7 separate regions of the Homo sapiens genome follow, and all the other regions are linked to region 7. The links are contacts of gene promoters, found by promoter capture Hi-C in blood cells and fetal thymus (Javierre and others, 2016). All regions are on one chromosome and are shown on one strand. The core of a region is centred on a gene start or on the middle of the fragment in contact, and the rest is flanking DNA. Distances in the headings are between cores, read along the strand shown. Region 1 has its middle 9.1 kb from the start of IRAK2. Region 2 holds the start of TATDN2 (TatD DNase domain containing 2). Region 3 overlaps THUMPD3 (THUMP domain 3 tRNA guanosine methyltransferase). Region 4 overlaps IRAK2 (interleukin 1 receptor associated kinase 2). Region 5 overlaps SETD5 (SET domain containing 5). Region 6 overlaps IRAK2 (interleukin 1 receptor associated kinase 2). Region 7 holds the start of TADA3 (transcriptional adaptor 3).

The links. Contacts are between HindIII fragments. The CHiCAGO score rates a contact against its expected background, and 5 or more counts as called.
Region 1: a contact is called between a fragment that was not itself captured here and the fragment with the promoter of TADA3 in region 7, in 1 of 17 cell types (monocytes). The highest score is 7.0, in monocytes.
Region 2: a contact is called between a fragment that was not itself captured here and the fragment with the promoter of TADA3 in region 7, in 13 of 17 cell types (monocytes, total CD8 T cells, naive CD8 T cells and 10 more). The highest score is 13.0, in monocytes.
Region 3: a contact is called between a fragment that was not itself captured here and the fragment with the promoter of TADA3 in region 7, in 2 of 17 cell types (neutrophils and total B cells). The highest score is 8.3, in neutrophils.
Region 4: a contact is called between a fragment that was not itself captured here and the fragment with the promoter of TADA3 in region 7, in 4 of 17 cell types (monocytes, naive B cells, activated CD4 T cells and 1 more). The highest score is 7.4, in monocytes.
Region 5: a contact is called between a fragment that was not itself captured here and the fragment with the promoter of TADA3 in region 7, in 1 of 17 cell types (neutrophils). The highest score is 5.1, in neutrophils.
Region 6: a fragment that was not itself captured here is called in contact with the fragment with the promoter of TADA3 in region 7 in 8 of 17 cell types (activated CD4 T cells, naive CD8 T cells, total CD4 T cells and 5 more); the score reaches 8.4 in activated CD4 T cells.

The regions. Positions count from the first base shown.
Region 1 is chr3:10,154,424-10,157,199 of GRCh38, forward strand. No RefSeq gene overlaps it. Among named protein-coding and RNA genes, the nearest start is that of IRAK2, 9.1 kb to the right of the region's middle. The HindIII fragment of the contact is 8,341 bases long and covers 1-2,776 here.
Region 2 is chr3:10,247,591-10,250,324 of GRCh38, forward strand. TATDN2 (TatD DNase domain containing 2) reads left to right here and starts at 869. Exons shown (of 8, transcript NM_014760.4): 1 at 869-1,477; 2 at 1,605-2,024. The coding sequence starts at 1,611. RefSeq lists a silencer at 755-1,184 and an enhancer at 1,437-2,305. The HindIII fragment of the contact is 1,674 bases long and covers 588-2,261 here.
Region 3 is chr3:9,380,055-9,382,754 of GRCh38, forward strand. THUMPD3 (THUMP domain 3 tRNA guanosine methyltransferase) reads left to right here. Exons shown (of 10, transcript NM_001114092.2): 7 at 449-564. Among named protein-coding and RNA genes, the nearest start is that of THUMPD3-AS1, 15 kb to the right of the region's middle. The HindIII fragment of the contact is 6,287 bases long and covers 1-2,700 here.
Region 4 is chr3:10,183,817-10,186,706 of GRCh38, forward strand. All of the region lies in intron 2 of IRAK2 (interleukin 1 receptor associated kinase 2), which reads left to right. Among named protein-coding and RNA genes, the nearest start is that of IRAK2, 20 kb to the left of the region's middle. RefSeq lists enhancers at 1,530-2,030, 2,031-2,531. The HindIII fragment of the contact is 2,061 bases long and covers 469-2,529 here.
Region 5 is chr3:9,439,911-9,442,684 of GRCh38, forward strand. SETD5 (SET domain containing 5) reads left to right here. Exons shown (of 23, transcript NM_001080517.3): 8 at 546-788; 9 at 1,683-1,831; 10 at 2,218-2,335. Among named protein-coding and RNA genes, the nearest start is that of SETD5, 44 kb to the left of the region's middle. The HindIII fragment of the contact is 1,749 bases long and covers 635-2,383 here.
Region 6 is chr3:10,202,612-10,205,389 of GRCh38, forward strand. All of the region lies in intron 3 of IRAK2 (interleukin 1 receptor associated kinase 2), which reads left to right. Among named protein-coding and RNA genes, the nearest start is that of IRAK2, 39 kb to the left of the region's middle. The HindIII fragment of the contact is 1,354 bases long and covers 834-2,187 here.
Region 7 is chr3:9,791,223-9,793,922 of GRCh38, forward strand. It overlaps TADA3 (transcriptional adaptor 3), which reads right to left and starts at 1,251. Exons shown (of 9, transcript NM_006354.5): 1 at 994-1,251; 2 at 38-271. The coding sequence starts at 244. It overlaps ARPC4-TTLL3 (ARPC4-TTLL3 readthrough), which reads left to right and starts at 1,326. Exons shown (of 12, transcript NM_001198793.1): 1 at 1,326-1,902. The coding sequence starts at 1,900. It overlaps ARPC4 (actin related protein 2/3 complex subunit 4), which reads left to right and starts at 1,860. Exons shown (of 6, transcript NM_005718.5): 1 at 1,860-1,902. The coding sequence starts at 1,900. RefSeq lists enhancers at 1-78, 1,183-1,709, 1,636-1,735, 1,710-2,236, 2,436-2,525 and silencers at 1,066-1,155, 1,216-1,505. The HindIII fragment of the contact is 10,858 bases long and covers 1-2,700 here.

The DNA of each region.
Region 1 (2,776 bases), core at 154-2,653, 360 kb after region 7:
TTTGACCCTGGGTCTTTGTATCCTCTTCTTAGCACCTCAGTCCCACGCTCTGCTAGTCATTGGCTTCCTGATACCCCTTCAATACAGACTGAGTATCCCTAATCCAAAAATTCCAAATCCAAAGCACTCCAAAATCCAAGAGTCCCAACGTGACGCCACAAGTGGAAAGTTCCACATGTGAGTACTTAACACAAACTTGTTTCACGTGCAAAACTGTGGAAAATATTGCTTACAATTACCTTCAGCCTTTGTCTGTAAGGTGTTTATGAAACTGGTGTTATGATGTATATGTTTTCTTTTTTTGTTCCTGGCTCATAACTCCCATAGCCCTTGTTACGGATGTGAGCCACCTTGCCTGGCTAATTTTTAAGTTTTTTGTAGAGATGGGGTCTCGCTGTGTTGCCCAGGCTGGTTTTAACTCCTGGGCTCAAGCGATCCTCCCACCTTGGCCTCCCAAAGCCCTGGGATTACAGGTGAGATTACAACCCTCATTTCAGAGAAGGTCCTACCCCATACCCTGGGGGAAGGAATGGTGACATCATAAAGCCTCGTTAAAACCCATGAGGACAGTGGAGAGTGTCAGGATAGCTGAACTACGTGTAGAGGTTCCTGGAGGGTGGTGCGCCCAGGGAGGGGACAGAAGCTCTGCGCCCCTTATCCCATACCTTGGTGTACGCATCTCTTCATCTGTATCCTTCGTAATATCCTTTATGATAAACCAGGTAGGCCGGGCGTGGTGGCTCACACATATAATCCCAGCACTTTGGGAGGCTGAGGTAGGAGGATTGCTTCAGCCTGGGAGTTCAAGATAACATCATAGTGAGATCCTGTCTCTCCTAGAAAAAAAAAGAACAACCAGGAGTGGTGGCGCATGCTTGCAGTCCCAGCTGTTCAGTTTGCACTCCAGCCTGGGAGACAGAGCAAGACCTGCTGTCTCAAAAAAAAAAGACTGGTAAACATTTTTCACTGAGTTCTGTTAGCCACTCCAGCAAATTAAACCCAAAGCGAAGGTGGTGGGAACCCCAACTTGAAGCTGGTTGGTCAGAAGTTCTGGAGCCCTAAACTTGCTACTGGTGTGTGGGTGGGGGCAGTCTTGGGGACTGAGGCCTCAACCTGCAGGATCTGATATTATTTCCAGAAAGATGGTGTTGGAAGTGAATTAGAGGATACCTAATTGGTGTTCACTGCAGAATTGATTGCTTGCTCGCTCTCGGGAAGAAATCTACACATTTGGACACGAAAGTGTTCTGGGTTGGTATTGTGTTAGTGTGGAATCTAGAGGAAAAACAGTTTTTCTGAAACAGAAAGGTAAATGAATTTCGCCTTTAGACTTGGGTCCCATCCTCAAGATACCTCATATATATGCACATATTCCAAAATACAAAAAAATCTGAAATTGGAAACACCTCTGGTCCCAAGCATTTCCAATGAGGGACATTCAACTTGTTCCCCTTTCTTTCGGCACACCTAAACTGCCTGCCCCAACAAAACATTTTCTTGTCCCCACCCCTTACCACACATACCCAGTAGTCCATTGGCAGGTCACAGAAAATTGAGGTACACGTATTATGGTCATGAGAAGGATTGGGCAGTAGCACTCAATGTATGAGAGGGAGAAAAACCCACAAAACTTATTTCAAAATTCAAAACATGAAACCGCAGGAAAATATAAGTCTGTTTGACATACAAACTAATGGCAGTAATCTCTCTCCCTGTCTGTCAGAAGGAAAAACACGAAAGATTGTTTCGTTCCAATTGGGAAAAGTTGAATCCTGGGGGCCTGGAGCTGGCCCCACAGATGCTGATAACAGAGCTGAGGTTACTGAAAGGCTTGGGGGAAGTCCTGTTGAACCATTTCATCTTAACATAAGTTGGAGGAGACTTAATTGGGCAAAGGACAGTTTAGCAATTTGCTTGATGGGGAGTGACATGAGTTGATGGATCTTCCCTTGTAGGAGGGTGTTCATTACCTAGGCCCAACCCAAGAATTTTGAGAACTCTTGTTGTAGCTATTCCATGCTCAGAAACCTCTGATAGGAACTGTGGTAAGGGCTCGTATTAGTCTGTTCTCATGCTGTTATGAAGGAATACCCAAGACTGTGTAATTAATAAAGAAAAGAGGTTTAATTGACACAGTTGCTCACAGCTGGGGAGGCCTCAGGAAACTTAACAATCATGGTGGAAGGCACCTCTTCACAGGGCAGCAGGAGAGAGAATGAATGCCAGCAGGGGAAATGGCAGATGCTTATAAAACCATTAGATCTCATGAAAACTCTGTCACCATTGGCCAGACGTGGTGGCTCACGCCTGTAGTCCCAGCACTTTGGGAGGCCGAGGTGGGTGGATCACAAGGTCAGGAGTTCACGACCAGCCTGGCCAAGGTGGTGAAACCCTGTCTCTACTAAAAATACAAAAATTAGCCAGGCGTGGTGGCGGGTGCCTGTAATCCCAGCTACTCGGGAGACTGAGGCAGAGAATTATTTGAACCTGGGAGGCGGAGCTTGCAGTGAGCCAAGGTTGTGCCACTGCACTCCAGCCTGGGCGATAGAGTAAGACTCCGTCTCAAAAAAAAAAAAAAAAAAGAAAACTCTGTCACCATCATGAGAACAGCCTGGGGAAAATTACCTCCCATGATTTGATTAAACCCTCCCATGATATATGGGGATTACAATTCAAGATGAGATCTGGGGGGGACACAGCCAAACCGTATCAGGGCTGTTCCAGCAGGTCTGGATTACCCTGGCGTGGAGCAACTCCAAGCAGTAGGGAGGATTTT
Region 2 (2,734 bases), core at 175-2,674, 460 kb after region 7:
CAGTCTTAATACTAAGTTATTTTATTATTTTGGGAGAATTGCTACATCGAATATCAGCCCTTTGTCATATGTTTCGAGTATTTTTCTGAATTTGTACCTTGTCTTTGATTTTTTTTCTTTTTTGAGACAGGGTCTTGCTCTGTCCTCCAGGCTGGAGTGCAGTGGCGGGATCACAGCTCACTGCAGCCTCGACCTCCCGGCCTCAAGTGATCCTCCCACCTCAGCCTGAGTAGCTGGCATCACGCCCAGCTAATTTTATTTTTTGTAGAGATGGGGGTCGCACCATGCTGGCCAGGCTGGTCTCTAACTCCCGAGCTCAAGCCATCCTCCCGCCTCGGTCTTCCAAAGTGCTGAGATTGCAGGCGTGAGACACCGTGCCCAGCCGTCTTTAATATTTTTCACCAGGCGGATAGTTCACATTTTTGTGTAGTCTTTTTTTTTTTTTTTTTGGTGCCTTCTAATTCTAATTCTTCCCATTTCTGGGTGTGTACTTAGTCTCTCTGAGCCACAGTTTTCTGCTCTATAAAGTGGGGTGATAATGCTCAGTACACGGTTTGCTTTGGCTCGATGAGAAATCCAGGTCTGAAAGCTTCAGGTACAGCGGCCGGCGCTGAGGAAAACAGCGTTAAGTGAGGCGCGTCAGCGGACACCACCTGCCTGCACATCTGGCTGGCCTCAACTTCCCGCTGTTCGAGCCCACGTGAGTGGCTCCGCCCCATCTGGCTTCTGACCAATGGACGAGCTTCCTAAGGCGTACCGTCCCGACTCCAAGGCGCCTGGCTTTGAGGCGGGCTGCGTCTTGCTCGGAGTCCCGCCCCTTGCCGGGTCGAGCAATGGGCGCCTTCCGTTTGGCGCAGGCCCCGCCCCTGTCGCTCTCCGGCCTGCGGGCCGCAGGGCTCGTTCCGGAGGGCGGGCGCCACGGAGGCCGGAGTGGTCGCAGTTCGGGCGGAGGCCGGGCCAGGCGGGGCTGTAGGGCTGGGGCAGGCGGCGGGCTGCCCGGCGGGACAGCTGCGGCAGCCGGCGGGGGGCGTCCTGAGTTGGCGGTCGAGGGCGCTGCCAGCTCCCGAGGGGCCGCTCGGGCCCCTTCCGGCCCGGGTCTGGTTGGGCCGCAGGAGCAGGGCGGGCTGCGGCGCCCGGGTCTGGCCCTGGCCTACGGGCTAAGCGCCCGGCCCCGGGGCCGCGGATCCGGCAGCCATGTGTGGATCTTGAAGCGCCATGTGGTCTTCTGAAGCGCTTGACAGTTCTAAAGGGCTTTATATTGCAAACTGATCAAAGCGCTTCGTAGCCCCGGAAGCGCTTAGGCATCTCCGAAGTAGCGCTGGGCAAAGTGAAGGCTTCCTGATCTCAGAAGCACGTTGTGGGCTTGGAAACCGACGGCAGCCTTTAGTCAATTTTGGATCGCTTTGACTTCTCCAACACGGTTTGGCATCTCTGAAACCTTGAGAACTGTGATGGGCAGTGGAAAGAAGAGGGAAAGGTCAGTGAGGCTAGCCCCTGGCTCTGCCCTTATGTCTTGCCGTCCTCCTGGGCCCGGGGTGGCGGGAATCTGAGGTGGGGTCGCCAGGAAGGGTGGTGTTGGAATCCAGGCCCCCTGTACCTTGCAGGTGCCCATGGCGTCCGAGCGGGGCAAGGTCAAGCACAACTGGAGCAGCACGTCGGAAGGGTGTCCCCGCAAGCGCAGCTGCCTCCGGGAGCCCTGTGATGTGGCCCCCTCCAGCCGGCCAGCTCAGAGGTCTGCGTCGCGTTCTGGAGGGCCCAGCAGCCCCAAGCGCCTGAAAGCCCAGAAGGAGGACGATGTGGCTTGCTCGCGGAGGTTATCCTGGGGCTCATCCCGCCGCAGAAATAACTCCTCCTCCTCCTTCTCCCCACATTTCTTGGGCCCTGGTGTGGGCGGGGCCGCCTCCAAAGGCTGCCTGATTCGGAACACTCGGGGGTTCCTGTCTTCAGGGGGATCCCCTCTGCGTCCTGCCAACGCCTCTTTGGAAGAAATGGCTTCTCTAGAGGAGGAAGCCTGCAGCCTTAAGGTAGGTGGCTGCCACGCTTTGCAATCGGTGAAGCCCCTTCCACATGGCTTGAGAGGTTGGGGATGGGAATTTTGGTGGAAGGAGACTACAAAACATTACATCCTTGAAGGTCTGGAAGGTCTTTCTAGAAGTCCACTCCCCCCAAACTCGAAGACCTAGCAGTCTTCCAGGCGCGTGGCCTGAAGTTAAGTAGAGAGGTAATTTTCAAACTCGGCAGCACTTTGGAACTACTTGGAAAGCTTTAAAATACTTGGGCCTGCCTCCTACTCCAGAGAAACTGATTTATTGGGCTGAGGTGTGGTCTGGGCTTCCAGATTTTTCAGTGCTCCCCAGGTTATTGTAAACGTGCAGCCCCGTTGGAGAATCACTGCAGTAGAAGGTGGATTATGTGCTCAAGAGAAGAATGTATTTATTTTAGTTGTCAGTTTAAAGAATTGTGTGCCCTTGTACTTTGAACCACTCTGAATCACAGAACCAAGAATTGCGGTTCTTGGTGTAGCTTTTCTCCAAAGTCATAGTTTCCAGCATGTTGGGGTTTTGCTTGGTGGTGCTAGTTTTTTTTTTTTTTCTTTTTTTTTTGGAGGTTAAATTGTTAATTCCCTAATGGAAACATGCAAGAGGGTTTCATAAGTACTTTGAGCAGACCAAGGAGTGCTTCACAGAGAAGATACATTTCGCTCATCTACTCAATCAAGGCTTTGAACAAATAT
Region 3 (2,700 bases), core at 177-2,676, 410 kb before region 7:
TCTCAAATATTTTCAAACCGCATTAACTTAGAATTTAGTGTGCCAGACACTGCTGGATGAGGAACTGAATAAAATACTAGACCTGACCTCAGAGAGCTCCCAGGTTAGTTGAGAGGCATAAAGGGGAAGAAATAATTAACCGTGGGACAAGTGCAGTGGCAGAGGTACGTACATACAAAGTGTTTTTGGGAGGGGCACATAAGACTGCTTGGAGAGTTAAGGTTGATGTTGAAAGGGCATGAGGTTTGAGCTGGGTCTTAAGAGATGGGTAGAGGTTCAGCAAGCAGAGAAAGAATAAGAGGGCATTTTCAGCCAGGGAAATAGCACAGTTGACAACATGCAATGTTTTGCCACTCTAGAAAAGCACTGGATTTTCTTTGTTTGTTGACAATTTAATCATATTTTACAGTTTGCTACTTTTGTTTTAACATACACTCTTATCTTTTAGGGGGCCACTGAATGGTCTGACTGTTTCCATATTGCTGGTGATAATAATCCACTGGCTGTGAATAGAGCAGCAAATAACATTGCATCTTTATTGACCAAGAGCCAAATTAAAGAAGGGTAAAAATTTAAAAGATTTCTTAGCATCTTTTAGAGTTAGAGAATCACTTTTTATATTGACTTTATGAATTAAAACTCCCAGTGCATTGTGACGTCATTGTAACCAAAATGAATATACTATGAGACTCCATTTACATTTTTAAAGTTTATTGAAAATAAGTTATATTTTTAAAATATTATTTTAGCGATAATTTCCCCACCATATGCAATTTTTCATTTGTCTTATTCATATGTCTTTTCCCCTACATATTGGAAGAATATTTTATAGACTCATTTTAATTTCACAAAATTTTAAACAGTATATTTTTACATAGGCTTCTTTTTTGCTTTGGGTACAGGGTCTCATTTTGTCACCCAGGCTGGAGTGCAGTGACATGATCATGGCTCACTGTAGCCTCAACCTACTGAGCTCAAGCAATCCTCCTGCCTTGGCCTCCCTAGTAGCTAGGAATACAGGCATGTGCCACCATGCCCAGCTAATTTTTTAAAATCTTCGTAGAGATGGGGGTCTTGCTGTTTTGTCCAGGCTGGTGTCAAACTCCTGGCCTCAAGAGATTCTGCCGCTTCAGCCTTCCAAATTGCTGGGATTAGAGACGAGTCACCACACCTGGACCATAGTCTTTAAAGTCACTACATAAATTCCATCGTATAGAAATACTGCAGTTTATATAGCCTCGCCTCTATTTTATTACTAAGTCATTGGTTATATATTTCATTGTCTCTCTGATCTAATTTTTTAGGACAGTGCTTCTCAAACATTAATGTACATGTGAATCACCTAGGAGTACTGTTAACACAGATCTGATTTAGTAGTTTGGGATGGGACCTAAGAGTCTGCATTTTCCAGGAAACTCCAGGACAATGCTGATGCTGCTGGTCTATGTATCAACATTAAATCCTTTTACGTGTATTAAGACAAGTAGTTGGAAGGCTTCAATTTTCTTAAATACTGATTTATTGTGATGAATTAATTTTGAATGGTTGTTTCATATTTATTGAGGGTTTTTTTTAATGAGCCTAGTATATGGCCAGTCTTTTTTTTTTTTAATTAAAACTGATAAACATTTAAACAAACGTACCTTTCTAGCTTCTGAATATTTTATCTTGTTTGTACCTACACTGTCTGTTCAACCCGTACTTTTTTTTTTTTTTTTTTTTTTTTTTTTTTTTTTTTTTTTTGAGACGGAGTCTCACTCTGTCGCCCAGGCTGGAGTGCAGTGGCTTGATCTCGGCTCACTGCAAGCTCCGCCTCCCGGGTTCACGCCATTCTCCTGCCTCAGCCTCCCAAGTAGCTGGGACTACAGGCACCCGCCACCATGCCCGGCTTATTTTTTTTTTGTATTTTTAGTAGAGACGGGTTTTCACCATGTTAGCCAGGATGGTCTCAATCTCCTGACCTCATGATCTGCCCACCTTGGCCTCCCAAAGTGCTGGGATTACAGGCATGAGCCACTGTGCCCGGCCTCAACCTGTACATTTCTATCCATTTTACTTTGGTTTTTAATATTTTTTGCCTTTTGTTTTGTGCAGTTATTGGTATGCGGTTATAATACATATTTTATGTGTACTTTTAAAAATTATGTAATGATTGCTTTTATTGCATTTTTTTCTTAAATTCTTCATTAAATGTCAATTAAATCCTTAATTTCTGCTGATAACCTTTGACTTATCTTCAGTTCTTAGCCTGTGCATTATTTTGTTTCTTAAACCAGTTGCTTTGCCTTAATGAGGAGGATTTAAATCCTTTGTATTTATTATTATTCATTCTGTCTTCTGTCATCTATATTTTTTATCTTAACTTTTTTCTTAGTCTTGTTTTATATAGCATGGCACATATTTTCCTTTTGGTTTTTCATCTTGAAACAATTACCTATATATTTGCCAATTTTACTATCTGTTTTTCTTTTAGGCCTCCTGTTATTACTAGTTTTACAAACTTTATTCTTCAGATACATCACCCCATTATCTATTCTTTAGTATTGTTTTTCTCCAGTGTATGTTTTATCAGCAACTTAAATTTTTGTATCATCGGTTATGTAATTTACTGCTTCAGCATTGTTTTTAAAGTTGTCTTTTGCAGTTCTCTGCATTACAATCATGTTTTCAGTTTGTTTCCCTTTTTTCTGAGACGGGGGT
Region 4 (2,890 bases), core at 249-2,748, 390 kb after region 7:
CTGCTGGCCAGAGTCAGCCCCTTTTTCCTCTTTTAGCCATCCATGTCTTGGGCTCCTCTATTAGCCTTCCAGGTTCACTACTGTAAAACAAGCGCAGACCACAGTGGCTGAGAAAAGACAGGCGTTCGTTTCCCTCTCCTGTGACTGCCAGGCTGCCCCGGGCTCAAGTGGCAGCTCCGTGGTTTTGTGGCCCAGGCTCTTTCTTCTTTACTGTTCTGCCAGTGTGGACACAAGACTTCTCACATCTGAGATGGCCCCTCTGTGCCCCTACATGCACATCGCAGACAGCAAGAAGGGAAAAAGAGGAAAAAGGTGGGTACACTCCACTTCTTTTAAGGACATGACCAGGAAGTTGCTCACCTACTTTCCCTCATAAGCTATTGGCCAAACCTGGTCACAGAACCACACCTGCTTGCAAGGGAGGCTGGGAAATGTAATCTTTGGTTGCAAGGTTTTATGTGCAACTAAAGCTTCTAGTACTCTAGAAAAGGAGGCAATCAGTATTGGAGGGACCATTAGCAGTTTCTGCCACGGTCCATTTTGGCCACCCAGATATCTGTATACACCTGTCTTGACCTGCATAAAACATCTGCTTTCCACAAGGGAGATAGGCCTGGGGGCCTAATCAGTCACTTCCTTTAGGGCAAATCTGGTATGTGTGGGTGATGTGTAGCCTTCTCTAATGGCCCCAGTGACCCAGGGCCTCTCAACCAAAGAGAAGCTGTCTGCATCCCCTTCCCCCAGCACACCCAAATTCCATGGTGGAATTTGAACAGGAAGCCACAATAAAAAACTCCTACTTGAGATGAGAAACACGAGGTAGTTACTTGTCTATAGCAGTCAACAAATCTGGCAGAGGAGCAATTGTAAAACTCCCTTCCCTGTTTTTTTGTGGAGTTTTTGTGTGTTTTTTTTTTTTTTTTTTTTTTTTGAGACGGAGCCTTGCTCTGTCGCCCAGGCTGGAGTGCAGTGGCGCGATCTCGGCTCACTGCAAGCTCCGCCTCCCAGGTTCACGCCATTCTCTTGCCTCAGCCTCCCGAGTAGCTGGGACTACAGGCGCCCGCCACCATGCCCGGCTATTTTTTTATTTTTTTTTATTTTTAGTAGAGACGGGGTTTCACCGTGTTAGCCAGGGTGATCTCCTGACCTCGTGATCCGCCCGCCTTGGCCTCCCAAAGTGCTGGGATTACAGGCGTGAGCCCCTGCGCCGGGCCAAAACTCCATTCCCAGGTAAAGGAGTAAGTTCTTTGCTTGGCCCATCTGGCAGCCCTTGGTTCTCAGTGATCTGTGATTCGCGAAGCATCCTAAGCATCAGTATCACCTGGGAACTTGTTAGAAACGCAAATTATTGGGCCCCACCTCATCTGCTGATTCGGAAACTCTAGTGGTGAGGCCCAGCAGTCTGGCTTAAGTTCCCCAGATGATTCTGATGCACCTTGAAGTTTAAGAACCACTGCTCGGCCCGGCGCGGTGGCTCATGCATGTAATCCCAGCACTTTGGGAGGCCCAGGCAGGCGGATCACCTGAGGTCGGGAGTTCGGGACCAGCCTGACCAACATGGAGAAACCCTGTCTCTACTAAAAACACAAAATTAGCCGGGCGTGGTGGTGCATGCCTGTAATCCCAGCTACTCAGGAAGGCTGAGGCAGGCGAATCGCTTGAACCTGGGAAGCAGAGATTGTGGTGAGCCAAGATCGCACCATTGTACTCCAGCCTGGGCAACAAGAGTGAAACTCCGTCTCAAAAAAAAAAAAAAAAAAAAAGAACCACTGCTCTGGCTGGGCGCGGTGGCTCACACCTGTAATCCCAACACTTTGTGAGGCTGAGGTGGGTGGATCACTTGAGGTCAGGAGTTCAAGACCAGCCTGGCCAACATGGTGAAACATCGTCTCTACTAAAAATACAAAAATTAGGCCAGGCGTGGTGGCTCAGGCCTGTGATCTCAGCTACTTGGGAGGCTGACGCAGGAGAATTGCTTGAACCTGGGAGGTGGAGGTTTGCAGTGAGCTGAGATTGTGCCACTGCACTCCATCCTGGGCGACAGACTACACTCCGTCTCAAAAATAAATAAAAATGGAAATACAAAAATTAGCCAGAGGTGGCGGTGGGCACGTGTAATCCCAGCTACTCGGGAGGCTGAGGCAAGAGAATCTCTTGAACCAGGAGGCAGAGATTGTTGGGAGGCAGAGATTGCAATGAGCCAAGATTGTGCCACTGCACTTCAGCCTGGGTGACAGAGCAAGACTCCGTCTCAACAACAACAACAACAACAACAAAACACTGCTCTGATACCTGGTCCTCCGTGATTTCTGGGAAGTGGAGCTTCCACGTTCATTATTCTCTGTGGCCTTATCTGAAACGGAACTGGAAAGAATGTGCTTTTATTTAGGGCTCCTTGGCTTTCACAAACCACCTCCTGCTGGTGTGGGTTTGGGGACTTGAGTGGAGCTGTAGGAGTCAAATAATCTCCAGCTTTTATCAGATTCAGCTGTGGTTTCTTTGGCAACACAGTTCTGTCAAAAAACTAGAAGCTTCTGCTCTCTTGGCTTCTAATCAGTTCTGCTGTGGTAATCACAGCCGAAGATCCAGCCTAGACACATCTTAATTCTCAGCCCTGAAGTGTTTGGTCTGTTATTTCCTGGCTTCTGCGCTTAGCCTCGCCTCCTCACCCCCCAATTTAATGTGCTTACCTGGAGCTTCCCTTGAAGCCACCTGAAACAGTAAGTTGGATGGGAAGGCAGGACTCTTAATTTGACTTTTGCCTTTGAGCTCTCTGTATTTGGCAGAGAACCTCTTCTGAGGGTCAGTAGTAGAACTCAGAAAGGTGGAGCAGAGATTAGATTATTAGAAAGGTTAGTACCACAGTCTTCCCTGCTGCTGAGGCAGACTC
Region 5 (2,774 bases), core at 259-2,758, 350 kb before region 7:
TGATTGATTAAGATCACATCTAGGTTTAGAATGAACATGTATTATGAAAATAATAAGTGATACAAAAACATGCATTCTCCTGGAGAATAGTCAAAAAACCAGTTTGGGCTAACACTTAACACAGATATTCAGTGAGTATGAAAAATTTAAGCAGTGATAAATTTGAGGTCTCTACTGTTCATTTGTATGAAGATTTTCTTATGAACTTGATGTCAGTCCTTTGATTAGAAAATTGATTTTTATGACTTTAAAATGGTCATAAAATCACAGTGATGGGATGAAACTATGATCCAGATTAATTTCTTACTTTATAAATGGAGAAACTGAGCTTCCCCATTTAAAGAAGTTATTCAAGGTCTCACCTCTCATTGGTAACAAAAGCATGATAGAAACCAGATCCTCTGACTCCCAGTCCATTACTCTTTTATGCCACATCAATTGCCAAGTGATAAATTTTCTCTGGAACCCCAGCTTGTCCCACCCCCATTCCCAACCCTCTATTTATGCATGGACTTTACTAACCTCCCTGAATTTGTTTTCTACAGAATTCTCCCTCTGAAGCACAGAATTTAGATGAGAATACAACTGAGGGCTGGGAAAATCGGATAAGACTATGGACTGACCAGTATGAAGAAGCTTTCACTAATCAGTACAGTGCAGATGTACAGAACGCGCTTGAACAACACCTACATTCTAGCAAGGAATTTGTGGGCAAACCTACTATTTTAGACACTATTAATAAGACTGAATTGGCCTGTAATAACACAGTTATTGGTTCCCAAATGCAGGTAAGCACCAAAGGGTTGAGGACTCTCTAAGTAGCTGAAATTTTAAGAACCCAGGAAGAGGGTAATGGATTGGAATTACTGTTCCTTCCAAATGTACAAGGCCATGGAATAACAGATTAGCCAGGTGTTGATCATATGTAACCAAAAGTAGGTTATATTAACTGGAAACTACCTGGATACATATTTTTAAACTACCTTTATTAATAAAAAAATAGATGAATTGAGGCTGTGTGCAGTGCAGTGGCTCACTCCTATAATACAACACTTTGGCAAGAAGCCAAGGTGGAAGGATTGCTTGAGGCCAGCAGTTCAAGACCAGCCTGTACAACATAGTGAGACCCTCTCTTTACAAAAAAAAAAAATTAAAAGCCGTTGTGATGATACACACCTGTAAGTCCCAGCTACTGGGGAGGCTGAGGTGGAAGGATCACTTGAATGAATTTGAGGTTATAGTAAGCTATGATTGCACCACTGCACTCCAGCCTGAATGAAAGAGTGAGACCCTGGCTCTATTTAAAAAACAGAGAGAGAGATGACTTAGTATGGGAAATTCTATATACCCTAGGTAGGAATTATGTAATATTTATAGAAAGTTAAGCATGTTCTTTCTCATCTTTATTTTAGAGATAGAGTCACTGAAGTCTTAATCATGTATTTTTTTTTTTTTTTTAATATTTTCTTGCCGTTTCTGGGGAGGCAATTTCACTAGATGTAGCATGTCTCTTAGAAAAATTGAGCTTTCATCACATTTTAAAATTTCTCATCATTGATCTAAATAACATGTACAGATAAAACCTGAAAATATTAGCATGTTTTCCTTAATTATGAAGTAATTTGAGTGTCTACTAAGGTGTTCTTGCTGTTGTTTAATGTTATTGCTCTGGTTTTATTCAGTTACAGCTGGGAAGAGTCACTCGTGTTCAAAAGCACCGGAAGATCCTGAGGGCTGCAAGAGATTTGGCTTTGGACACTCTTATAATAGAGTATCGTGGGAAAGTCATGTTACGACAGCAATTTGAGGTCAATGGGCATTTCTTCAAAAAGTAAGAACGTCATTCATTGAGCAGTGAGGGCTAAGGTGGACCTGGTTGACCAGTGTTGTTGTAAAAATCATTCTGTTTGATAAGACGCTCTTGGGAGAAAAAAATCACAACTCAGATAAGCTCACACCTGTCTGCTATTTGTAGAGAAGTGCAAGTAAATCTTCAAATTGTTCAATGTATAAAATGGTGACACCTCCTTTCCAAGCCAAGCATTCCTTGCTTTGTGCTTGTTCTTTAATCAAAAGCAGACAAACGTGATGCTTTCCCAAGTTTAGGCGTTGCAAAAGACTGCTGCTGCTTCTCTCAGCATATGCTTCATATTTGGAGTCATGGGGTGGCCTTCTTATTTGTGTTGAGAATTACAGGAATTTTAATTGTATCCCTAGACCATACCCCTTTGTGCTCTTCTACTCAAAATTCAATGGTGTAGAGATGTGTGTGGATGCCCGTACTTTCGGTAATGATGCTCGGTTCATCAGAAGATCATGTACACCAAATGCAGAGGTAAGATATCTGTAGCAACTTCCCTTTGACTGGAACCATCAAATGACAAGCTTACTGAAGAAGCAGTGTGAAAACTTCACTCAGATAAAGGTCTGTAGATAATAGTCGTGATATTTCATCGTGGGAGGTGAAAAACAAAAGTAATGGTGCTTTTATACGACAAAATGGGCGCAAGGAAAGAGTTTTCTTTAGAGAAGGCAGAAATAGAAAAGAGCAAGTTAGCATTTGCTAAGGAGAAAAAGCTAGACTGGATAAGAAAATCAAGTGTAGTTATATTAAAGAGATTGCCATACGGTGGAAGTAGATGTTGTTAGGCCTAACTAAGCTATTTGGTTGCAGTTTTTTTAGATTTTAGTGAGTAATGTTTTATGAGAGGATCTAGACATTTCTAGAATTCATTACTCAGAGCAACCACATCAAATAAAGCAAGAAAATCCAC
Region 6 (2,778 bases), core at 261-2,760, 410 kb after region 7:
GACTCTGTCTCAACATAAAAATAAAAGTAAAATAAACATCACATGTCTCTGTCAGCCTTTGCTGTTTACTTTCTTTCCTTTTTTTTTTTTTTTTTTTTTGAGATAGGCCTTGCTCTGTTGCCCAGGCTAGGTGACGGTGGCACGGTCATAGCTCACTGCAGCCTCAACTTCCCTGGCTGAAGCAATCCTCCCACTTCAGCCTCTCAAGTAGCTGGGACTACAGGTGTACATCACTACGGCCGGCTAATTTTTTATTTTTGTAAAGATGGGATCTCATTATGTTGCCCAGGCTGGTCTCGAACTCCTGGGATCAAGCGATTCTCCCACCTTGGCCTCCCAAAGTGTTGGGATTACAGGCATGAGCCACTGCACAGAGCCCTATTTACTTACTTTCTTTTTTTGGCAGTGGGATGGAATCTCTGTCACCCAGGCTAGAGTGCAGTGGCACAATCTCGGCTCATTGCAACCTTTGCCTCCCGGGTTCAAGCGATCCTGCTGCCTCAGCCTCCTGAGTAGCTGGGACTATAGGCACGCACCACCACGTCTGACTGATTTTTGTATTTTTTGTAAAGATGGGGTTTCGCTGTGTTGCACAGGCTGGTCTTGAACTCCTGGGCTCAAGCAATCCACCTGCCTTGGCCTCCCAAAGTGCTGGGATTACAGGCGTGAGCCACTGCACCCAGCCCCTATTTGCTTTCTTGATGGCACTTGGAGCAAATGTGCCCAGGCAGGTCAAGATGATAACTACAATTTGCAGGCAGAGACAGGAAGTTGATTGTCTATCTTTGCCTAAATTGAAAATAAGAAATCATTCATTTCATCAAACCACCCAAAGCTTGTCTTCTTTCGGGAAAACCCCAAGGTTCCACTGAGCCCCAGAGTTCAAACTCATCAATTATCTTAAAGGATTTTGGTAGGAGTGAAGTATACTGAGCCCACATCTTGATCCCTGTGATACCCTGGCTCCCCCTTGCAGTAGGTGGGAAGGAAGTGGGAAGAGACATGGAGGAGGAAAATATGTTTGTTTGTTTTGTTTTTTGAGACAGAGTCTCGCTCTATCACTAGGCTGGAGTGCAGTGGCGCGATCTCGGCTCACTGCAGCCTCTGCCTCCTGGGTTCAAGTGATCCTCCTGCCTCAGCCTCCCGAGTAGCTGGCACTACAGGTGCGCGCCACCACGCCCAGCTAATTTTTTGTATTTTTAGTAGAGACGGGGTTTCACCATGTTGACCAGGATGGTCTTGATCTCTTGACCACCTGCCTCGGCCTCTCAAAGTGCTGGGATTACAGGCATGAGCCACCGCGCCTGGCTGAGGAGGAAAATATGTGAGCAGAGGAGCCATGGATAGGCTATGAGCACCTCGGCAAAGCAGTCTCGAAGCTAGAATTCAGATGAAAGGGTTTTGAGCAGCTGAAATAACTGTTACAAAGCCTTAGCTGTAGGAGAGGCCACTGGGCTATCAGTCAGAATCTGTTTACTTACTCTACACATAGTTTCACCAGCCTTGGTAAAATACCAAGTACTGCATGTGTCACAGCCTGACCTTTGTGCTCTATAAACATCAGCTCTTTTTACCTGGACAAGAAACAGACCATTATTGCTCTTTTTACATTTGAGAAAGCTCAGATAAGTGAGGCACAGCTCATCTGAGGTCAGATCTTGAGTAGTGCTGGAGCCAGCGCTTGAGCCAAATTCTGTTTGATACTAATAAAGGAGATGGGGCAGCTGGGGGTAGACCCGCTGCCAGCATCAGGGCAGGACATAGAAGACCCCATGTCAGATACAGTGCCGCTGCTTCTGCAATTCTTGTACCTGCAATGACACAGCTCGGCAGGACCAGAGGTGGTGCATTTTGCTTGAGAAAGCAGGCATATTAGCCTCAGTAGAATAGCAACAAAAAGGCCAAGGCAGTCGGATCACCTCAGGTCAGGAGTTCGAGACCAGCCTGGTCAACATGGTGAAACCTCATCTCTACTAAAAATATAAAAATTAGCTAGGCATGGTCTCAGGCGCCTGTAATCCCAGCTACTTGGGAGGCTGAGGCAGGAGAATTGCTTGAACCTGGGAGGCGGAGGTTGCAGTGAGCCGAGATCACGCCACTGCACTCCAGCTTGGGTGACAGAGAAAGACTCTGTTTCAAAAACAAAAACAAACAAAACAGAGCAAAAAAGAAAAGCAAGAAAAAGAAAGCTTCTGGAAGCATTTCCATAGGAAATGGTTTGTTTTTTAGCTAAGTCCTGGCACTTGATCTGACCTCTGATTAGCTGTGCCTCACTCTTGGAAACAAGATTATGTAGAAGCCCCAAGCCCCATCTATCACTATCACCCAACAAGTATCCCATCTTGTTCATCTACTCTCCTGCCCCATCTCCCTCCCCTCCCTTAGCCATTATTTTAAAACATTTTTATATGAAAAAATTACAAACATACAAAAGCCAAGAGCATAATGACCCTCCATGTCCCCATCAGCTGGCTTCAGTAATGATCCACCCATGGCCAACTTCTGATTAGTTTGTATGGAATCCAGGGAGATTTTCATATCCTTGATAGCTGGAGAATTCCTTCTCATTCTCCTCTCTCTGCCCTTGGACATACAGTGGGGGCCTTTAAAGATTATGGTTGTGAGTTTCTCCTACCACAGATAACTACCCTAGGCACGAGGAGCCAATCCGATTAGACCCCAGAGGAGGGGAGGGCTGGGTAGGGAGAGATGGAGAGTAATGGCTGGTGGGTCCTGTCTGATTTTCCAGACCAGAGTCCATTTCTTTTCCCCAAGACC
Region 7 (2,700 bases), core at 1-2,500:
TCCATCTCTGGTGCTGGCCCCTCTCTGGGGTTATCACCTGGGTTTCGGCCTCAAGCACACGCAGGCGCCGGCTGGCAGAAGACAGCAGGGTCTCCAGCTCCAGCTGCAGGGTGTCCAGCTCCTCGATGCCGATGCCATCATCCTCAGAGCGTGCCAGCACTGCCGTGTAGCGGGGACAGACCTTCAGGTGATCCACAGACTTGAAGTCGTGGAACTGCAAGGGGCAGTCTTTCAACTCACTCATGGCCCAGGATATGGGGATCCTGTGGAGCTGGAGAGGACAGGGCCATTGATGGGAGACAAAGTGGTCTGAGAAAAGCCCAAGGGCTTCTTACCTCCAGGGACAGCCTCAAGGAAGCCCAGCTTCAGTCCCTTACTGACAAAATTGATGGCACAGTTCCTACTCACAGGGCACTTAACTGGGTACCAAGCTAGGTGCAGAGCACTTTATCAGTTTATCTCACTGAATTTCTCACTCAGCACCATGAACAAGGACCATTGTGATCTCGTTTTTACAGAGAAAGAAACTGAGACTCTGTAAGGGTGGGTATGTGCCTATGCTTCCAAGATGCAATTTGAACCCCGCTAGTCTTGAGTCTGCACCCTGATCACCATGCTATACTGCTATGCCTTGCCTCGCCTTTCTGATGCTCTTTCCTTCCCTTCTATTTCTCTTGGGTTCTGCTAAGACTTTGAGTTCCAAGCACCCCATTCTTACCATGTTCTCTGGGACTCTTGGCCTCTTTTCTTACCCTATTCCACCTTTCTCCCTTCTCTAGTCACTAACAGTGGTTTAGAACGTGGGCTGGTAAGCCAGACAGACCTGGGTTCAAGCCCAGGCTTTACCATTCTCTACTTATATGCCCCTGAACATGTTATTTGACCTTTTTCAGTCTCAGTTTTTCCATCTGTAAAATGGGGACAAAAGAAGTCTCGGTCTGTTTCCCCATTAAAAGTCTGAATCTGAAAAATGGGGATAACAATAGTACCTACCTCCCTGGGATGTTCTGAGGATTAAGAGATGATGCCCGTCAAGAGCCCAGTTCAGTGTCTGGCACAGAAGTGGGACTGTTTAATGGCTGGCCCCGCCCGGGGGTCGCCCAAATGTCCCGCCTTCAGAGTCCTCGTTCTCTAGGGACACCCTAGTGCGACCCCCGCCCCCTCTACCTCCTCGCTGCGGCCTCCTACGGCCCCAGGGGCCGCGGGAGGGGGCGGGGAGTTCCGGTCGATGTGAGCAACCGCCCCGGAACTGGCTATGGGCGGGCCCCTTGCAGTTGACGCGGGGGCGGGGAGTCAGCGAGGGCGAGCCTACTGGAGTTTGCCGGGGGTGGGAAGAAGGTGGGCCTCGAGCAAAGCCGCTAGAGGTGGGGTGCGGGTGGTCGGCCTCAGGCGAGCCCCGGGGCACAGCCCGGGGCGGGAGGCGGAGCTTGGCGGCCGAGATCTCCGCGCTGCAGTTAGCCCCGCCGAGCGCCAGGAGCTGCGGGTAGGAGGGGCGAGAGAAAGGATGGGGGTACAGAACCGGAAGAAACGAAGGGCTCGTCCGCTTCGGCTTGTCCTAATTTGGTGCCCAATCTGAAGCTGGGCTGTACCATTGCATACCTGGGGGAGGCTGTGGCAAAGGTGACAAGAAGGCCGAAGGCACAAAGGGAAGCTGCACCCATTCCTGGAGGAGCTTAAATAGTGACTCGAGTGCAAGAATTTAAAAATACCGAGACAGCCCTAGGTGGAAAACTTCCGGAAGGCCCAAGCGTTCGTAAGGGCTCTCTACCCCGCTCGGAGCATAGATGGTACCGTCCGGAAGTCCGGGCGGAGACCGTAGCTGCGCTTCTCGCGAAAGGGCAGGCATCGCGGGGCTGGCCACTTCCGTACTTCCGCTTTCCGGCCCAGCCAGCGCCCGCGATGGTGAGAGAGCCGGGCCCCCGGCCAGGGACCCCCGGCTGTTCGGCCTCAGGGCAGTGGGTCGGTGGGAGATGTGGCTTTGCCGCAGGGGCGCGGGGCCGAGGGATGTCCGGGGGTTGTGGGGACACGATGAGGGTGGGAAAAAGAGACGGGGCGGGGGCCCGAGGTGAGGAAGGGGCGAGTGGGGGTACTCCCTGGTATGAAGTGGGCCTTGTGGCTTCACGGTCAGCCTTCGAAGCAGGTAGGGGCTTTTCCTGAGCCCTGTAGGAACCCGGAAGTGGGGTCTCCTAGGCTCTTTGGAGCATTTCGAGGGTACGTAGTCGGCCTCTTAGCCTCTGAGGCATGAAGCAAGTCCACCTGCCTATCCACAGTGGAACTTCACGACATACGCCCTTTGTCCTCTTCTGCCTTCCTGACCCTACAGTTGCTTAAGGCAGGCGGCCACACTTCCTTATCCCATTCTTGGTACCTCCAGCCCTGCTTCCACCCCATTGGAGGATCTCTCGTGTTGCTTCCATTCAGGCCCTTCCTGGTCAGAACTGAACTGTGTCAGCCTTAGTGTATGTTAGCTGTGATACTGCTCATCCCTCCCTTCCTGGAAGTCCTCCCTTTTTCATACATGTGGGCCTTTTTCATACATGTGGGCCTTTTTCATACGTGTGGGCATTCCTGGGAGTTGTGACTTTGGATGACCATCTCCCTCTTCGTCACACCTTCCCTGGTGATACCGATCTAGTCTCCTGGCTTCGATAACTTTCTTCATTCTGATGACTCCTAATCTGGCTTCTCAGCTCTCTTTCA